Regions from separate parts of the Homo sapiens genome. Here regions 1, 2, 3 and 4 are each linked to region 5. The links are contacts of gene promoters, found by promoter capture Hi-C in blood cells and fetal thymus (Javierre and others, 2016). All regions are on one chromosome and are shown on one strand. Each heading gives the region's core, a stretch centred on a gene start or on the middle of the fragment in contact. The rest is flanking DNA. Distances are from core to core; before and after follow the strand shown.

The links. Contacts are between HindIII fragments. The CHiCAGO score rates a contact against its expected background, and 5 or more counts as called.
Region 1: a fragment that was not itself captured here is called in contact with the fragment with the promoter of LRFN5 in region 5 in 1 of 17 cell types (total B cells); the score reaches 6.0 in total B cells.
Region 2: a fragment that was not itself captured here is called in contact with the fragment with the promoter of LRFN5 in region 5 in 1 of 17 cell types (naive CD8 T cells); the score reaches 7.5 in naive CD8 T cells.
Region 3: a fragment that was not itself captured here is called in contact with the fragment with the promoter of LRFN5 in region 5 in 1 of 17 cell types (naive CD8 T cells); the score reaches 6.0 in naive CD8 T cells.
Region 4: a contact is called between a fragment that was not itself captured here and the fragment with the promoter of LRFN5 in region 5, in 1 of 17 cell types (endothelial precursors). The highest score is 5.4, in endothelial precursors.

Annotation. Positions count from the first base shown.
Region 1 is chr14:40,013,242-40,015,941 of GRCh38, forward strand. No RefSeq gene overlaps it. Among named protein-coding and RNA genes, the nearest start is that of FBXO33, 580 kb to the left of the region's middle. The HindIII fragment of the contact is 4,586 bases long and covers 1-2,700 here.
Region 2 is chr14:39,669,399-39,672,098 of GRCh38, forward strand. The region is part of intron 4 of LOC105370461 (a long non-coding RNA gene); the gene reads left to right. Among named protein-coding and RNA genes, the nearest start is that of FBXO33, 240 kb to the left of the region's middle. The HindIII fragment of the contact is 284 bases long and covers 1,273-1,556 here.
Region 3 is chr14:39,703,343-39,706,042 of GRCh38, forward strand. All of the region lies in intron 4 of LOC105370461 (a long non-coding RNA gene), which reads left to right. Among named protein-coding and RNA genes, the nearest start is that of FBXO33, 270 kb to the left of the region's middle. The HindIII fragment of the contact is 668 bases long and covers 1,026-1,693 here.
Region 4 is chr14:39,622,130-39,624,829 of GRCh38, forward strand. The region is part of intron 2 of LOC105370461 (a long non-coding RNA gene); the gene reads left to right. Among named protein-coding and RNA genes, the nearest start is that of FBXO33, 190 kb to the left of the region's middle. The HindIII fragment of the contact is 5,395 bases long and covers 1-2,700 here.
Region 5 is chr14:41,605,487-41,608,186 of GRCh38, forward strand. LRFN5 (leucine rich repeat and fibronectin type III domain containing 5) reads left to right here and starts at 1,390. Exons shown (of 6, transcript NM_152447.5): 1 at 1,390-2,700. The HindIII fragment of the contact is 1,232 bases long and covers 1,021-2,252 here.

The DNA.
Region 1 (2,700 bases), core at 80-2,579, 1.6 Mb before region 5:
AATGATTTGGAATCTGTGTAGTGCAGAAATAGGATAATGTTGAACCTGCTCCTCTCCTAGGCCTGTGGTACTTTGGGTGCTGGAATTAGGCAGTCACTACCAAAGATTGCTGCAAAAGAAGCAGTGATATTGGGTGAATAAATATTTTGGTATAGAAATGCAAACAATAGGTGGTTCATCTCAAACAAAACCCATAGATCACCTGTCCAACTTTGTTAGCTTGCTAGGAAGTTAGTTATAATTACAAATACAGTCTAAGACATATTTTCTAGTTATTAACATATTCCATACAATCTTGATAGCATTATTCCAAAAACCAAGATCATATCATTAATTTAAACCTATTCCATGCAGTGACTATTGAGAAAAAGTAAATAGTATCTTCTCTTAATGGATAGATATGTTCTTTTGTACCATAGATTATCTTTACAATAGTAACCTGGCACTAATTGAACTTTCAAAATTGAACTGCTGCTGATAAATCTCTTAAAAAGTCTTTTTTATATGTAGTAAAATGTTTAAGAAACACTAAAAAAGTTAGAACAAAAAGATAAAATGAGAAACAGAATATGAAATAAATTAGTATAAGACCTTGGTATTATACCAAGGTTAGGAAGACAGTTCAGTAGAATTCAAATTATTATTTTATTGCTGTTCTTCACTTTGGGAAAGGTGTATGTATATGTAAGAAGTTGCTTATATAGTGCCAAACAAATGTCTTCAAATTTAAGAACAATGCCCATGAAAGGAAAATCAACCTAACAAGAAAGAAATATTAATATTTATAACGCAAGAAACCTTAAAAGGGGTTATGACCTTGTATAAGAGTATATATATAGGTAGATAGATACATATATTATAAATATATTGACATATGAACATACTTAACTACAACGTAGCTGATATTCTAAAAATAAAATATTGAATTGTGATTTTATGTATGTTTCTTTTTAGTAAACAAAGGGGATTAAGGGAAATATAAAAATGCAATGGAAAAAATATATTTGCCTGTGATAGTACTAAAATTTGTTACTTGATATTTCAATTAAACTTAAAAAGACAAAACAAGGAAGCAACAAAGAGATTTGCAGCACAGCAAAAATGGCCATCAAGAGATCACATTTGTCTTCTCTTCAACTGGCTTGGTCTGACGGTACTTCAAAATTGTACTGGGGATTCTGGAACCATTTTTTATAAAGGTGAAAGTTGGGTAACTTGACATCCAAAAGGAAGTTAATATAATAATTGGTTTTACATGTGAATATATCCTCAGTTTCATCATATTTACTAAAGGAGAGAGAAAAACTTGACTTATAAATGTGGCTCCCCTTATTTAAAATTACTTAGCCTATGGAATAAATAAATTGTAGTGGACAGAATCTAAGGTTGCCCTCTTGGTCCCTGACTCCTGGTGTTCCTGTCCTTACATAACTCTCTCCCCTAGAGCATGGGTGGGAAATATGACTTACTTCTAAGCTCTAGCGTATGCAAAGGGGATGAGATATATGTGATTACGTATACATGGTTACACGATTGTGTAACATAAGATGAAGTGCCGTCTTGCTGGAGTCTCTCACCCTCTTGTTGACTATGAAGATGGAAGTTGCCATGTGATGGTCTGCCTATGTTGGGAGACCCGCAGAGGAAAGAACTGAGAGAGCCTACAAGCTGATGGTGGCCTCTGTCCAACAGTCAGCAAGAAACAAAGCCCTCAGTCCTGCAGCTGCCATCTTCGACTCTGCGTTCCATTTAACATGAGTGGAACTGATATTTTTATAAAATAAGAACTGAAATACATGTTTCTGTGTAAATCTCCTCTTATAAATAAAATGAAGTAGTGGAAGGATATTCGAAGGTAGTGGTGCAAAAAAGTGGTGCCAATATGAAAGGACAAATTGTAAGGGAACAGAAATCTCTTTCAGTGGATAAAAGAATAATACAATTATAAATGTGATCAATTAACAGATTAAGCTGATAATGGAATAATATGCAAGAGGGTACTAATAGTAAAATTAGGATTGTACCCCATCATTACATGGACCCAAACTAACTCTATCAATGTGCTTCAGGATGAGAATTCTGCCATCTTCCGTCTGCCTTGCTTATTTAGGAACCAATTTAACTCAGTCTAGTGTTAGGCATTGGAGATTGAGGTTTGGAAATAAGTTGTTGGTGTTCTATAGCCAAGGGCTAAATCTTTTGAAATTTTTTGGATGCCAGCAATGCTATTGCATGGTTGGCTCTTTAAATACTACCTGTGGAGGCCAGTTTGCTTGACTTTATTGGGCCTGGGTCTGTGGAGTAACTGGGGCTTCATAACTCTATTCTGTGTCTCTAACACCTGCTTTTGAAGAGTGCAGAAAAGTGTAGATCTCCCTGTTCTAAACTTCAGTTGGAAAACCAGTGTGCCTGTTTACTTTTCTCTTTATTTTAACCCTTGCTAAGGGTTCCATGGCTGCTGGTCACCCTGATTGATGCCATCCTATAATTGGAATGACTTTTTAATACCTATATAGAATTGGTTTCTAGTACCCCTCCACCACCCTAGTTCTTCCTCAGTTTTATAGTAGCTTCTCCCCAGAAGTCTGCTTTCTCTGTCTTAGATCATGTTCCTTTTTCTTCCATATATCTTGTAGCCAGTGCTGTGTGGTATGTTCTTTCTTCAGCATGGAATTCAGTATGAGGGACACATCTTTTGGA
Region 2 (2,700 bases), core at 165-2,664, 1.9 Mb before region 5:
CTGTAAAAGACTGATTTAATGGGGCTACTGCATATTCTCCCCCTCTCTAGGAGACTAACAATTATGGTGAACAACTAAATCTGTACAGTGGTGTCAGGGAATCTGTTCCATGGTGTTTACTCAGTGTTTCTAAATAGATTTTACCATAGAACTCTTTTTGTCCCCCTCCGCCCATAAAACATGTATTCCCTCCATTTTGGGAAACTCCATTTCAGGCTGATTTCTCACTCTCCTGATTCTCAAATCCCTTGTGCCTTTATTCCTGGTGCCCTCAGCCATGGTCCAGTAGCATCCATTTCCCTATCCCAGCTTTTCCTTAATCCTACCTGGTTACCATATTCCAATGTATTCTGCTTACTTGCTTTTCCCTGCCACCATTCGTTGTGTCTCATCTTTGTTTATGTCTCTTCTGGCCTCCAGGTTTATTGGTAACATTAAATATTTTCATTTTTATGGTCATTCTCTAATATTTGTTATTTTCTGGGTTATATTAATGTCTCAAAACTCTCTTTCTTTATGCCCCAGGGGAGATATTGTCTATAGAAAATTAGAGATGCTTAGCATTAAATTTAGTTTTAGTTCCTTCTCCATCTCCCAATCAGGCACCCTCTCTACATTAGCCTTACCTGAAAATTTGAGTGCCAGGGAGTTCATCAGCTTAGAGAGAAGCCCCCTTCATTTTTTATAGCTCCAGTTTTTAGGAATTTTTTTTGTTTGTTTTTAAGAGACAGGGTCTTGCTATGTTGCCCAGGTTGGTCTTGAATTCCTGGGCTCAAGGGATTCTCCCACCTCAGCTTCCCAAAATACTGGGATTACAGGTGTGAGCCATAGTGCACAGGCTTCTTTGTTGTATTGAAACCAAACATGCCTATCATTGGTGAACTTACTTTAGTCCTTTTGCGTTAAGTTTTTGTCATGTCTTTCCTATACCTTTTCTTTTTCAGAACAACTCTGTATATGCTATTGTTTTATGACATTTCAATTTTTTTTACTCATTTTAAACTAGTGTATACAATGAGAAAGCTCTTTTATTAGTTAACAGATGTTAGCAAAACTCATCCTCACAACTTAAAACTTCTTTCTGCCAAAAGAGCATTAAATTTGGTTTGGATTGCAACTGGTGATACCACCATCTATATGGCTAGCAGAAATACTTTAGTGTCCTTGCAAGGCAGTGAGTTGAAGGAGCAGGAGGGAAAGATGGCAGAGGCTGGATCAGGAAATAGAAGTCAGCCACTCATTGTAACTCTTGGAAAATTCTGAATTGGGTAAAGCTTGTTTTGACACTCTTACTTGCTCTTTCTAGACTTCTTTTCCCAATGCATGGATTCCCTTCCTGTTTTTTTCCACTTAATGTGCACAGAATATCTTGCTTTTTTCCTCAGTTAAAACTTGCTTTCAGGAAAGATTTGGTTTCAGCTGCTTGTATCTTTGTTGAGAATATAACATACTGTCATTCTCAAGTGTATGTACACTTTAAGCACAGTATTGGTTAGTTACCCATGTCACTACCTATGGGTTGAAAGGCATTGCTCTCTTGTGTGGAAGGAATTTTAAGCTTCAAAAACTATGTGAGAGTGATTTTGGAGGGCTGGAAAAGGGATTTATATTGGTTTTCCTAAAAATATACAAATATTTCAGCTGCCTGTTTTCTTGCATTTAAGTCTTGCCTGCAAATTTCCCTAAATATTCTGTTCCCTAAATAAATTCTGTAATGCATCCTAAGTATTCTCCCAGGCAGTGTTTCTCAAACTTATCAATGAACTTCTGGTATCAAAGGAGAGTGAATGCATAGAGCCCTGGGAACTGAGGGTGTGGCTTTACAGAACAGTGCTCAGAATGAACCTGATTCCTTTGTGAAATTGTTTCCTCTTCTTGCAGACTAAAAATCAATTTAATCCAAAAGATAGATGAAAATGGAGAATTATTGTGAAAGTCTTAACCATATAGGGCAGTAATGAAGGCATAGCATTAATCTAGAGAATAACTAATCCCTTTTGATGAATGGCATGTAAATAAATGCATTCCAAACAGATGTTTTTAGGTATCACATGCCCACCTTTTATTGTTTCGGGGTCACTTCAATACTGAGACATTTTATAAATGAAGCTCTCCTATACAATATAGACTCTCACACAGAGAGAGAGAGTAACTCGAAATTCATCACCGAATTCAACCCAAGAGAATATCCTTCTTAACTTGGGATTCTGTGAATACACAACTTAATATTTCATTTTGATATACAGTCAAGGATCCTGAAAAGAGATGAATATAATTTATACAAAGTCACCTTCATGCAAATGGCAATTTTGGATGAAAGTGGGAACGCCCATTTCCTAATCATAGTTTCTTCATTTTTTCCTGGTAGTCCTTGGAGTTCTGACACAAGATGCTAATGGTAAAAATTAATATTGGGTGATAATAAATATATCCTTGTGATTTGTCACTTCCCTTTTCTGCTTTTTGAGATTTTTATGATTGTGACCACTACAAAACTGTCCCTAAGGTTATTTCAGTCTATATTATCTATGCATGTAGGTTGGTACAGTACTATATAATTTTACTGCACCTTTTCAACTGATGACAATTATTATTTAAGACTTTAACTTTATTAAAGTACATCTTAATATGATTAAGACACCATTGTTGAAGACCTGAGCACTTTCAAACTTTTCAATACGTATATATTAAGAGTCTACG
Region 3 (2,700 bases), core at 110-2,609, 1.9 Mb before region 5:
TGCTGTGCTAGCAATCAGTGAGATTCTGTGAGCATAGGACTCTCGGAGCCAGGTGCGGGATATAATCTCCTGGTGCGCTGTATTTTAAGCCTGTCAGAAAAGCGCAGTATTAGGGTGGGAGTGACCCGATTTTCCAGGTGCCGTCTGTCACCCCTTTCTTTGACTAGGAAAGGGAACTCCCTGACCCCTTGCGCTTCCCGAGTGAGGCAATGCCTCGCCCTGCTTCAGCTCATGCATGGTGCGCTCTACCCACTGTCCTGTGTCCACTGTCTGGCACTCCCTAGTGAGATGAACCCCGTACCTTAGATGGAAATGCAGAAATCACCTATCTTCTGCGTCGCTCACGTAGGGAGCTGTAGACCGGAGCTGTTCCTATTCGGCCATCTTGGCTGTTTCCCTCCATTTTGTTCTTTTTTATGGCTGAGTAGCATTCCAAAGTGGGGAGATATATATATATATATGTGTGTGTGTGTGTATATATATAATATCACATTTATATATCATATATCACATTTTCTTTTTGATATAATGACTTCTTTTTTCCATTGTGTAGATATCCAGTAGTGAGATTGCTGGCTTGAATGGTACATCTACTTTTAATTTTTTGAGAAATCTCTGTTCTGTTTTCCATACAAGTTGTACTAATTTACATTCCAACCAGCAGTGTACAGGCATTCCCTTTTCACCACAGCCATGCCAACATCTATTGCTTATTTGACTTTTTTATAATGGCCATTCTGGCTGGAGTAAGGTGGTATCTTATTGTGGTTTTAATTTGTATTTCTCTGATGATTGGTGATGTTGAACATTTTGTTCATGTGTCTGTTGCCCGTTTATATATCTTCTTTTGAGAAATGTCTATTCATGTCATTAGCCCACTTTTTGATGAGATTATTTATTTTTTTTCTTGCTGCTTTGTATTAGTTCCTTTAAATTATTGATGTTAGTCCTTTGTCGGATGCATAATATGCAAATATTTTCTCCCATTCTGTTTACTCTGATGATTATTTCTTTTTCTGTGCAGAAGCTTTTTAGTTTAGGTAGGTCCCATTTATTTATTTTTGTTTTGGTTGCATTTGCTTTTGGGGTCTGAGTCATAAATTCTTTGCCTAGGCCATTGAAGTGCACTACTTTCTATACAGGCATTCTGCTATTGTCCAGCAATGACCACTTCAGAATTATTTTGAACTTTTAAAGGTTTGCCTCTGTTAGCCAACTCTCTCCAAAATCTTTAAAAGCACAACTGAGAAAGTAAATTTAAAATTTTATGAATAATTGGCTAATCTTAAAAAGCATAACATTAGAATTTATTTTACTTTGCGTTTGAGATTTTGAATTTGATCTATTTTTGGTTAATAGGACAATATTGTTCATGTAGCAAATTTAGGTGGCTAACATGCTGTCATTTCTATATTCTCTAGGTGGCAGCTTAGCTCTACCTTTTAAGCATCTCCCTTTAGTGTTTTTCTCACTGGCATTTCATTTAAAAACTGCTAACATAATGCACAACAACATGTAAAATGAATACAGCCAAACGTTATCTGCCTGCCTTTAATGTCTTGACAAGGTTTTTCATGTAGCTTTGCCACACTGCTGATTTTAATGGAGGGATTCAGAGATAGCAGCACTGAAAAAGTACTCTTATTTACCATTTTTCTCATATGAAGGTCAATAACTGGGTCTTTTATGATTAAGCTTCAGTTATAAAGCATCCACATTGTTCTAGAGTTTGTACTTTTTCTGCACGTAGTGTTGAGCCAATTGTCTTGCTATTTAGTCACATTTGAGATGTGTTTATTTCCTTCTCTCCATTACAGTTTCATGAACAGCTGGGTTTGAATGTCACGATATCCTCATTCTGTTCAGTTAGAGTGCAAATACCTTCCTGAAAATTATGAAAATATAGCTTAACTCTAGAATAAGAAATTACACTGTCTCGTAGAGGAAAATCTCAACTGGGAGTGATGTTTGCTCCTCAGGGAATATTTGGCAATGTCTAAAGATGTTTTTGATTGTTGAACTAGTGGGAGGGAAGTGCTGCTACTAGTATCTCAGTGAATAGCAGCCAGGGATGCTGATAAACATCCTAAAATGCAGAGGATGGTCCCCTACAACAAAGACTTAATCTAGCCCAAAACATTAATAGTGCAGAGGTTGAGAAATCCTGTTGTAGAGAACAGAGCCATAGTGGTAGTAATATTAAAATCAGTACAAGTTTTAATAATCAACACAATAACTCCATATAAGTAGTTTACTGAAGTTCATAAACATTATAAACATCCTTTAGAAAAATATCTTTTTTGATTAATTTGATAATAAGCTTTTCATGAAACTATTCTTGTTCCCTGTCGTCCTACCCATTTTCCTCAAATGGTTAAAAATAAACTGTGCCCTTGTATTTCATTTTCTTAATTAAAAATATTGCTCAGCTATTATTTTGCATATCTAAAACTCAGGAAATCTCTTTATGAGAAAACTGTGTTTACTGAGTACAGAGAGTTAGTTTGCACATCTGTCAAGATCTATATGCAATTTTCTTTCCTTTCTATTTTGTAAGTCAATTTTATTAAAATGGGTTTGAGATGTCTCAAGTTTATCAAACCTATTGACTGTGGAATATATTAATTAAAACTATTGAAAATCGAGGTCTGAGTATACTGAAGTTCCCAAAGAATTTAGTGTAAAGGAAGCTACTTAATT
Region 4 (2,700 bases), core at 59-2,558, 2.0 Mb before region 5:
GTGTTTTGCTCAGATCGTTTTAATGGCATTCAACCAGGCACTGGTGGTATATCATGATAATTCCTTCTCTAGTACCACATCTCATAGGAGTATAAAATCCTGAGAGTCCAATCTCTGTGACATTGCTCATGTCCATTCCCTCTGCTCTTCCTCCATTACCAGTGTTTATATCCTCATTTCCTACCTGGACCATTGCAGTTGTCTTCTAAATCATCTTGCTGCCTTTAGTCTTGACTGCCTTGAATCTATTTTCCATATTGCTGCCAAAGTGATCTTTCTATACTCAAATATGCTCTTTTCTCTGTGTTTAGAATCCTGCAATGCTTTCCAATGGCAATAACATTAATCTAGACACTTTTTGCATGGTATAGAAAACTCCCATGATTTGGCTCCTGTTTGACAAGTTTTTGATATCTCTATTTATCTTGAAAGTAAACATGAGGTTTCTGGGGCAGAGATGAAAGTTATTAACCCTGCATGCTGGGGGATGGGAGAGTCTGCACTGCAGAAAAAGGAATCCTGAAATTGCGAATCTGGGATCGTATATAGGTTACAGACTGCCCACTCTGACTTCTTCTTCTTCTTTTTTTTTTTTGTTAGCTCCCACTTATAAGTGAGAACACGTAGTGCTTGATTTTCTGTTCCTGTGAGGATAATGGCTTATGGCCCCATCCATGTCCTGCCAAGGACATGACCTTGTTCCTTTTTTATGGCTGCATAATATTCCATGGTGTATATGTGCCACATTTTCTTTATCCAATCTATCATTGATGGACATTTGGGTTGATTCCATGTCTTTTCTATTGTGAATAGTGCTGCAATAAACATACGCATGCATTTATTTTTATAATAGAATGATTCATATTCCTTTGGGTATATACCCAGTAATGGGATTGCTGGGTCAAATTGTATTTCTGGTTCTAGATCCCCGAGGAATCATCACACTGTCTTCCACAATGATTGAACTAATTTACATTCCCACCAACAGTGTAAAAGTGTTCCTATTTCTCCACAGCATCACCAGTACTGTTGTTTCTTGACTTTTTAATAATCAGCATTGTGACTTGCATGAGATGGTATCTCATTGTGGTTTTTCATTTCTCTAATGATTAGTGATATTGAGCTTTTGTTCATGTTTGTTGGCCGCATAAATGTCTTCTTTTGAGAAGTGTCTGTTCATGTCTTTTGCCCACTTTTTGGTGGGGTCATTTGTTTTTTTTCTTGTAAATTTGTTTAAGTTCCTTGTAGATTCTGGATATTAGACCCTTGTCAGATGGATAGATTGCAAAAATTTTCTCCCATTCTGTAGGTTGTCTGTTTACTCTGATGGTAGTTTCCTTTGCTCTGCAGAAGCTCTTTAATTAGATACCATTTGTCAATTTTGGCTTTGGTTGCAATTGCTTTTGATGTTTTTGTCATGAAATCATTGCCTGTTCCTATGTCCTGAATGGTATTGCCTAGATTTTCTTGTAGGGTTTTTATAATTTTGGGTTTTACATTTAAGTCTTTAATCCATCTTGAGTTAATTCTTGTATAAGGTGTAAAGAAGGGATCCAGTTTCAATTTTCTGTATATGGCTAGCCAGTTTTCCCAGCACCATTTGTTAAACAGGGAATCCTTTCTGTGTTGCTTGTTTTTCTCAGGTTTGTCGAAGATCAGATGGTTGTAGATGTGTGGTCTTATTTCTGAGATTTCTATTCTGTTCTGTTGGTCTATGTGTCTGTTTTGGTACCAGTACCATGCTGTTTTGGTTACTGTAGTCTTGTTGTGAAGTTTGAAGTTAGGTAGCATGATGCCTCCTTTGTCTTTTTGCTTAAGATTGTCTTGGCTATGTGGGCTCTTTTTTGGTTCCATATGAATTTTAAAGTAGTTTTTTCTTATTCTGTGAAGAAGGTCAATGGTAGTTTAAAGGGAATAGCTTTGAATCTATAAATTACTTTGGGTAGTATTTCACGATATTGATTCTTCCTGTCTATGAGCATGGAATATTTTCATTTGTTTGTGTCCTCTCTTATTTTCTTGAGCAGTGTTTTGTAGTTCTCCTTGAAGAGGTCCTTCACATCCCTTGTTAGCTGTATTCCTAGGTATTTTATTCTCTTTGCAGCAATTGTGGAGGTTCATTCATGATTTGGCTCTCTGCTTATCTATTGTTGGCTTATAGGAATGCTTGTGATTTTTGCACGTTGATTTTGTATCCTGAGACTTTACTGAAGTTGTTTATCAGCTTAAGGAGATTTTGGGCTGAAATGATTGCATTTTCTAGATATAGGATCACATTGTCTGTAAACAGATACAGTTTGACTTCCTCTTTTCCTATTTGAATACACTTTATTTCTTTCTCTTGCCTGATTGTCCTGGTCAGAACTTCTAATACTATGTTGAATAGGAGTGATGAGAGAGGGCATCCTTGTCTCCTTGTCTTGTGTCAGTTTTCAAGGGGAATGCTTTCAGCTTTTGCCCATTTAGTATGATGTTGGCTGCGGGTTTGTCATAAATGGCTCTTATTATTTTGAGATATGTTCCATTAATACCTAATTTATTGAGAGTTTTTAAGATGAAGGGATGTTGAATTTTATTGAAGGTCTTTTCTGCATCTATTGAGATAATCATGTTGTTTTTGTTTTTACTTCTGTTTATGTGATGAATTACATTTATTGATTTGTGTATGTTCAACCCGCCTTGCATCCCACGGATGAAGCC
Region 5 (2,700 bases), core at 140-2,639:
AGCCAAGGATTGGATCCGGAGTACCAGGGGCAGAGAGGGGGAGCAGAGGAAAGAAAGGAGATGTGAGGAGTTTCCACCTAAAGCACTTCACTCCTCGTGTTCTTCCCCGACAGAGATAGCTGTGTGGTTCTTCCTTACGCGTGGGTGCAGGTGTGCGCGCTTGGGGTGAGCCCATGGTTGTGCTCGAGTATACGGGCGCCTGTGCACCTCCAGGGCAATGGTAAAGCCTGGCAGAGCTCTTTTTGGAACAAAATGAAGGAGCTCCATATCCACGGAGGCCACCCGTATGGGCCTTTGCCAAGTAGGGCAGAAGAAGCCCTTGTTAGCCAGCTTCCCTTTGCAACTTCCTACTCTTCCTTTGGGTACAGACTGGTGTCTGGGCTAGCTAGGATCACAGCTGAGAGCGAAGGTGCTCTCAGTGTCCGAAGACCACGTGCTGGTGAACCCACAATGAGAAGCGAAAGGGTTTCAGGACTCTAGCAGAAAGGAAGAGCAAGATTTCACTCAGGGTTTCTTAGAAGAAAGAGTTAACTTTGCTCACTGGCTTTTCCAGGATGGAGGGAGTGGGGATAGGGTCGGGGAGAGAAGCATTGGGAGTCTTGTCGGAGTCTCAAGCAAAACCAGGCGAGGGCTCCGGGCAGATCCATTCCCGCAGGGCCCTGTCTAACCTCCTTTCCAGTCGCACCTCTTTCCTGCTTTAGACCCTGCGTCTGTGCCGGTGACCTTAGAGACTAGGTCTGGCTTATGAAGACTGTTGGGCTCCCTTTCTGCCCTTCACATAGTAAAATGTGACCAACTGCAGTATTCGTAATGTCTGATGCTGAGCTGAGTTGATTCCCAAATATAAATGTTCTTTTCAGAATCCGCTCCCATCTGATTAGTAAGCAAATCACCACCCACAACTAAGGGGACAGCGGAAGCCAGCCTCAGATGACTGAAACCCCCAAGTCAGTAGCTCTCCTCAAAATTTCCGGCGGGTTATTATAGATAATGACTTTTCCCACCGCCCTAAGCAGCCGAAGCTTGACTCAGTGATGATTCTCTCTATCCCGTAACTGCGAGGAAGTGGGCGATCAGCAAATTGCCCTTTTGCAGGAGGCTGGGGACGCCCCTGGAAGTTCGCTTTCATTCTCCAGGTTTTCTGCCTTTTCCCTTCCCCCTTCCTGCAACGCCCCCGCGCCTCCTCAGCCTGGGGATTTCCTGGCGCTTCGCCGGCCCTCTCCGCAACCCCCTGATAAATCGGTTCAGAACCAGTCTGGCTGGGAGGCCCGAGGGCTGACAGCAGCGGAGCGGCCCCGGCCGGGGTCTCACGGACTCTCGGGGTCTGGCCGACACGGCCGCTCCCGTCACTGCAGCGCGGGCTGAGCTCACGGCCGCGCGCCCGCCGCCGCCGCCGCCGCCGCCTTCATGCTGCAGCGCAGGGCTCAGTTCCACGCGGCCAGGAGGCCGCCGTTGCCCACACGCGACGCTTTGGGAAGCCCAGCTCCCGGGTCCGCCCCGGCCGCGGCCGCAGCCCCGGACCTCGGCTGCTTGCCTCGCGCCTGAACTGCGGACTCGCCCCAGCGCGGTGGCCAGCGGGCGGGGCGCTGTGTTCCGCGGCGCGCAGGGAGGCGGTGAGCGTGTGCAGAGCTGCCCGAACGGAGGACTATGTATGTGTGTGCGCGTGTTTGCGTGTGTTTGAGCGTGTTTTTCCTTCTTCCCTTGAGGATGTGAATTGTTTAGCAGCTGGCTGCTCCCTTAGGATCCTTGACTTTGGGGAGCTCTGGCTGTGAACACAGCCCACCCATATAATCCATTTTGCACGGTCCGTTATATCAGAAAAAAAAAGCGCAACTGGACGGGGGTGGGGCAGACCAACGAAACCTAGACAGACACACACACACTCAGAGGAGAGAGGAAGAATTGAAAGACTTGAGAAGACTTTGATAACCTCCCTGCTGGCCCTTCTGTGTTCCGGAAAGATCCTGGATGTTGGCTACCTTTTCAAGTCATCTTGGCATGTCTCTAGTGTTTTGTAAGCCGCTTTCCAGCTAGCTGCGTGTGTGTGTGCGCGCGCGTGTGTACGCGCGCGCCTATCTGATGCATTTGACTGTCTTTTATCCAACTGCCCAGAAGCAAATGTGTTAACTCGGCGATGCCCCTTCATGCCCGGGTTCTTGCAGAGCTCTGAGGACGCCCAGACCCATTTTCCTGGCTGGATTTGGAGCGGCTGCTGGGCTGTGGACCCAGGTGTGTGGATCGCTTTACCCAGAAGCTTGGAAAGCGCCAATATTAACCTGCTTCCAGGTACATCACAAGGTCAAGAGAGTGTCTTGCAGCCCTCTTGTTTCCGTGTATCTACACCTTCTTCTCTTGGCCAGAAGGATATTTACGTTTTGGTTCACAGCATTTGAAGCCAAAAGTTCAGCCCTTCGAACTGGTTTGCTATACAAAACAAAACAAAACAAATAAGGTAATGAGGATTGCTTATTAAACTGCTTAACAAAATCCCCGACTCTTCCTCAGCCCTTTCTCGGCTCCCTCCTCCCCACCAAAATGTCACCAGCTCTTGAATTACGTGGATTCGGGTTGGAGGAGAACTTGAAGGAAACGTGATTAAAGGGCTATGCGAGAACGCTCTCTTTGCTGCCCGCGGTCCGGTGGGCTTCGAAGCCAATCGTGAGAAGGACCGGTTCCCTCCGTGCTGCTTCCTCCCCGTGC